2 separate regions of the Homo sapiens genome follow, and region 1 is linked to region 2. Evidence: promoter capture Hi-C in 16 types of primary human blood cells and fetal thymus (Javierre and others, 2016). All regions are on one chromosome and are shown on one strand. Each heading gives the region's core, a stretch centred on a gene start or on the middle of the fragment in contact. The rest is flanking DNA. Distances are from core to core; before and after follow the strand shown.

The links. Contacts are between HindIII fragments. The CHiCAGO score rates a contact against its expected background, and 5 or more counts as called.
Region 1: a fragment that was not itself captured here is called in contact with the fragment with the promoter of SLC30A4 in region 2 in 1 of 17 cell types (naive B cells); the score reaches 5.2 in naive B cells.

Annotation. Positions count from the first base shown.
Region 1 is chr15:45,645,358-45,648,207 of GRCh38, reverse strand. The region is part of intron 1 of SQOR (sulfide quinone oxidoreductase); the gene reads right to left. Among named protein-coding and RNA genes, the nearest start is that of SQOR, 12 kb to the right of the region's middle. The HindIII fragment of the contact is 4,297 bases long and covers 1-2,850 here.
Region 2 is chr15:45,521,082-45,524,083 of GRCh38, reverse strand. It overlaps SLC30A4 (solute carrier family 30 member 4), which reads left to right and starts at 1,329. Exons shown (of 8, transcript NM_013309.6): 1 at 1,329-1,477; 2 at 1,616-2,120. The coding sequence starts at 1,730. It also overlaps the pseudogene HMGN2P46. RefSeq lists a silencer at 1,137-1,626. The HindIII fragment of the contact is 8,884 bases long and covers 1-3,002 here.

The sequences.
Region 1 (2,850 bases), core at 351-2,850, 120 kb before region 2:
CAAGATTCCGTCTCAAAAAAAAAACAAAAAAACAAAAAAACAAAAAACTATCATTGAAATAATAACTAACATTTATTGTTTACCAGTTGTACTTGTGCTGTCTCAAAGACTCCTCATAACCTTATAAATAAAATCCCCATTTTACAGATGATAAAATTGAGGGTTTGAGTAGAGATAGAGAACTTGCCTAAGGTCACATGACTAAGCAACAGAACTTAATTCAAACTATCTAATAATTCAGGAAAAATGCCTGTTGGCTGAAATTATTTTATTTTATTTTGTTTTTGAGACAGTCTTGCTCTGTCACTTGTCGCCCAGGCTGGAGTGCAGCAGCATGATCTCCACTCACTGCAGCCTCCGCCTCCTGGGCTTAAGCGATTCTTGTGCTTCAAGTCTCCCGAGTAGCTGGGATTACAGGCACCCACAACCACGCCCAGCTAATTTTTCTACTTTTAGTAGAGGCGGGATTTTGCCATGTTGGCCAGGTTGGTCTCAAACTCCTGGCCTCAAGAGATCCACCCGCCTTGGCCTCCCAAAGTGCTGCGATTTACCGGCCTGAGCCACCGGGCCTGGCCCAAGCTACTTTAAATTTGAATGAAAATAAAATAATCCCAGCACTTTGGGAGGCCAAGGCGGGCGCACTGCTTGAGCTCAGGAGTTCGAGACCAGCCTGGGCAACAGGGCGAAACCCCATCTCTACTAAAAGTACAAAATTTAGCCAAGCGTGGTGGTGTGCTTCTATAATCCCAGCTACTAGGGAGGCTGAGGCAGGAGAATCACTTGAACCCAGGAAGAGGAGGTTGCAGTGAGTGGAGACTGCCTCACTGCACTCCTGCCTGGGCCACAGACAAAGACCCTGTCTCAAAAAAAAAAAAAAAAGTTAAAGTAGCTTGGTTGAATCCCATGGAGTGAGGTGGGAGGTGAGAGTGAATATATGTTTTGTTTTGTTTTGTTTTTTTCTAACAGAGTTTCACTCTGTTGCCCAGACTGGAGTGCGGTGGCATGATCTCGGCTCACTGCAACCTCCTCCTCCCGGATTCAAGCGATTCTCCTGTCTCAGCCTCCTGAGTAGCTGGGATTACAGGCGCCCACCACAACACCCAGCTAATTTATATATTTTTAATAGAGACTGAGTTTCACCATGTTGGCCAAGCTGGTGTCGAACTCCTGACCTCAGTTGATCCACCAGCCTCGGCCTCCCTGTTACTAAATTTTAGCTTACTAAATAAACTGAAAAGAAAGAAATTAAGTTTTTTTGGCAGAGAAGGGCAAGGTACAATAATAGTACTGATTTAATTTTTTAGGAGTCTTTATCTTTCAGAAATATACACCGAGATTCTTATAGTTGAAATGACTCGGAATTTGCTTGAAAATATTTTAGGAGGTGTAAGTGGGTAGGGGTGTAGATGAAACAAAATGGGCCATGAGTTGGCAATAATTTGAAATCAGTGGATGGATATATATGGGCATTCCTTGTGGCAGTCTATTTTTGTACATGTTTGATGAAAGTTTACACAATAAAAACTTAAAATGAGTGAATGAATGAAAAATTTAAAAAAACTATGTCAGAGTGAACACTGGTTTTGCTCTTTAGTCACTGAAATGTTAAGGTTTGGGCATATTTCAATAATAGCAAGATATTAGCAATACAAGTAATAGCAACACAACTTATAATCATACATCCTCCCATGTGCATAGAGCTTTACAATTCACAGGGCCCAAACCTGAGCCCACACCGGAAGTATTGATATCACTTTACAAATGGGAAAACTGAGTTCCAAGAGGTGAAGTCACTCAAGGGTTTCACACAATGCATCAGCAGCAGGGCCAGAGCTAGCATGAATTCTTTTTCTGACGAGCAACTTTTTCTGAATATCCTTTGCAGCAGCAATGCAGGCATTAGCAGGAGCTAGCAATTCAGAGAAGGAGCAATTCCCAGTCTGCACCTTCCAGCTCCAGGGATGGCCTCTCTGCTGCGATAGGGCAGAACAGAAGAGTCCTGCATCTCTGGGTGGCCCCACATGCTGTCTCCTAGAGGGGCCGGCCTCTAAGCAGGGGCAGATCTGGGTTTTATGGGCATTGAACCCTATACAATTTGGGGCTTCAAATCTGGGGTTTCATAACCCAAAATTACCAATACAAAATTAGATACAATATCCAATATGTATTTTGAATGAGAAAGTAAATCACAACAAATACCTGTATCCTTGGTGAGTCAGGACCCTTTGTTCTGCGATCTCTTTTAGAAAATGTATCAGAAATACAAACATAGCAATGCTTGCTAGTTACAAGCTGGCTGCCTCCTGGAACATGGGAAAACTCCCTGCACCCACAGCCAATAAAGGGTCAAAACAAGATTTAACTGGAGGAGGTGAAAGGAATGAGGGAGGCAACCAAAGCAAACATCATCATTTCCCTATTACATGAAGGACATTCCTGGAAACTGGCTCACAAGATTATAGAAGCTAAGTCCCAATTCTGTAGTCAGCAGGCTGAAGACCCGGGAGAGCCTATGGTACAGTTTCAGTCTCAAGGCCAGCTCAAGACACAGGACAAGCCATGTTTCAGTTGACTCTCAACACAGAAGAACATCCGATATCCCAGCTCCAAGACACTCAGGCAGGCAGGGCTGATTGTCTCTCATTCACGGGAGTGTTCGCCTTTTTGTTCTACTGAGGCTTTCAGCTGATTGCGTAAGGCCAACCCACATTGGGGAAGACAATCTGTTTTGCTCAATCTACCCATTCAAATGTTACTCTCATCCAGAAACCCCCTCACAGGCACACCCAGAATACCGTTTGACCAAATTTCTAGGCACCCCATAGTCCAGTCAAACTGGAACATAAAATT
Region 2 (3,002 bases), core at 80-2,579:
AGGCCTAGATGATTGATAGCTTTTTTTTTTTTTGAGACCGAGTTTTGCTCTTCTTGCCCAGGCTGGAGTGTAATGGCGTGATCTCGGCTCACCACAACCTTCGCCACCCGGGTTCAAGCGATTCTCCTGCCTCAGCCTCCCTAGTAGCTGGGATTACAGGCATGCGCCACCATGCCCAGCTAATTTTGTATTTTTAGTAGAGACAGGGTTTCTCCATTTTGGTCAGGCTGGTCTTGAACTCCCCATCTCAGGTGATCCGCCCGCCTCGGCTTCCCAAAGGGCCGGTATTACAGGCGTGAGCCACCACGCCCAGCTGATAGCATTTTTTTAGCAGTCATGTATTTTATTTACTTGTTTATTTTTAGAGACAAGGTCTCACTCTGTCGCCAGGCAGGGGTGCGGAGGCACAATCATAGCTCACTGTAATCTCGAACCTCTGGGCTCATGCGACCCTCCTTCCTCAGAGCAATTAACAAATGTATATATACTTTTTCCTTCCTCTCTCCCAATATTTTAAATTAAGGTATGCACATTGTTTTAGACATAACGCTATTACACGCTTAATAGACTACATTATAAACATGATTGTATTTGCACTGGGACATGAAACATTTGTGAGACCTCACTTTGTCATATTGCGGTGGTCTGGAACCAAATTCGCAGTATCTCCAAGGTATGCCTGTACTAGATTTTCTATGCTTGAGTTTAGTCCATATCGTAAATACCTTGGAGGCAAAAGGAACACGGCAGAGAGCACAAAGAGGACAATACATATTTGCTGAAAAACAGTAGGACACAGAACTGCTGACGACGACAGCCTTGCCCTCTCCAGTTGACTGCAGCAAATGTTGCCAATTTGCCAGAGACAAGCAATTCGAGGAGAGAAAAGCTGCTTGCCTTTTCAGTTAGCAAGAAAAGTGCTGGGTTTGTCTTCTGCCGAGCACCCGCAACCCAGATCCCGACCCGAGATTCCTGAGACACACTTTCGGTGGAGGGAACTCCTAGCAGCAACGCCCAGCCCCCGGCGTGACCCTCCGACCGCACTTGCCTCCCAGCCTGGGAAGGTGGAAGAGGCCGCCCAAAGTCCCCTCAGTTGGCCAGTGAGTGACCCCTGGGCGGAGGCGGCGCAGTGGCCCCCAATCCAGCCTCGGGGCGAGAGGCGGGGCGCGCCGCGCGCCCCCGCCCATCGCGGGCGCCCCAGCCCTGCGCGCCAGGCCTGCGTGTCCTCGCGCCGACCCCTCCCTCGCGCGCCTCGCCCGGCGCACGCGCGTGGCCTCGCGCAGGGCGGGGAGAGGCGGTGGCTGTGGGCGTCCGGCCCCGAACCTGTCAGACCTGGGGAGCCGGCCTCCAGCAGCGGGCGCGGCGGGCGCGAGCACGACCCCACTCTCCTGCGGCCGCGGGTGGAGCAGCGCGAGCCCGCCTCGCTGAGCCGGCCGGGGGCGGGGAGATGAGTTGCGGCCCCGCGGCAGCGCCCCAGGTATTAAATAGATGTGCCGCCCCCTCGCGGAGCCCCGGCGGAGCGTCGGGGTCGGCCCTGCGACCCGCCGCCAGCGGCTTCGGAACTTGAGGACAGGGTTGGGCGCCTTTAATTTATAACGTGTTTCGTTTTCCACAGGATGGGGAGGGACGCGCGGCACTGCCCTCGAGAACTGGCGCTCCGGTGAAGTAGGCGCCGCCGGCCGTCCGCCTCCCCCAAGCCGTTCCGCACCGCGGCCGCTCAGCCTCTGCCATGGCCGGCTCTGGCGCGTGGAAGCGCCTCAAATCTATGCTAAGGAAGGATGATGCGCCGCTGTTTTTAAATGACACCAGCGCCTTTGACTTCTCGGATGAGGCGGGGGACGAGGGGCTTTCTCGGTTCAACAAACTTCGAGTTGTGGTGGCCGATGACGGTTCCGAAGCCCCGGAAAGGCCTGTTAACGGGGCGCACCCGACCCTCCAGGCCGACGATGATTCCTTACTGGACCAAGACTTACCTTTGACCAACAGTCAGCTGAGTTTGAAGGTGGACTCCTGTGACAACTGCAGCAAACAGAGAGAGATACTGAAGCAGAGAAAGGTGAAAGCCAGGTTGACCATTGCTGCCGTTCTGTACTTGCTTTTCATGATTGGAGAACTTGTAGGTGAGTTGTGTTGCCAACTCACTTTCCGTTTACCTTTCCTCGAGAGTCTTTGTCAAGCTGTAGTTACACAGGCTTTGAGGTTTAACCCATCTTTTCAGGAAGTTTGTATTTATCAAGACACTGATCTCATGTGAAAAGGCCACACGGTTCCAAAGTGCAGCTCAATCTAAGTACAATATAAACTCCCCGAGATAACTTTGACTTTCTCTTCTAGTTGTTCAACCACTGTCATCTACCGTAAAGTTAAGGACGTTATCTTCATTGTATGTCATGTAACTTCCTCTTTTTACAAAGGTCTGGTAAAATACCAGGTTAATTTTCGCAACGTTTAAAATAGTAAATGATCGTAAATAACTTAAGATCATAGAATTTTACAGTATGAAGGGACCTTACTGAACACCTGCTCCACCTCCTTTTTTTTTTTACATGTAAGGATTTCCAGGGCACAAACCAGTGGAATAAGTCGTGAGGGCCACTTAGGGAGTTAATGGAAGAGCCACATCTACAGTCCCAGCATTTTTTTCCTCTACATTTGACCTAAGTGGTTTCTTTTATACGATTTCCTTTTGTATTTATAGCCAAGAGATTTGCAAAATTAATTACCAACTAACATGAAATTTTTGCCTCGTAAGAAGGGCCTGAAATGAACCAGAGGACTCCGCCAAAGTTCTATGAGCCTGGTTTTCTTGTTCATTTTTTAATTATACGAACAATCCGTTCTCAATATAAGATACATTCTTAGTTTAGAGGTTATTTTCAATCACGTCAGTATAACTACTAACTTCTCAGTGACAGTTTACAAAGTGACATAAAAGCAGGGAGATGATTCTTACATGTCATCTCTTAAATGATGAACCATGACAAAAACAGGTGGCAGTCCAG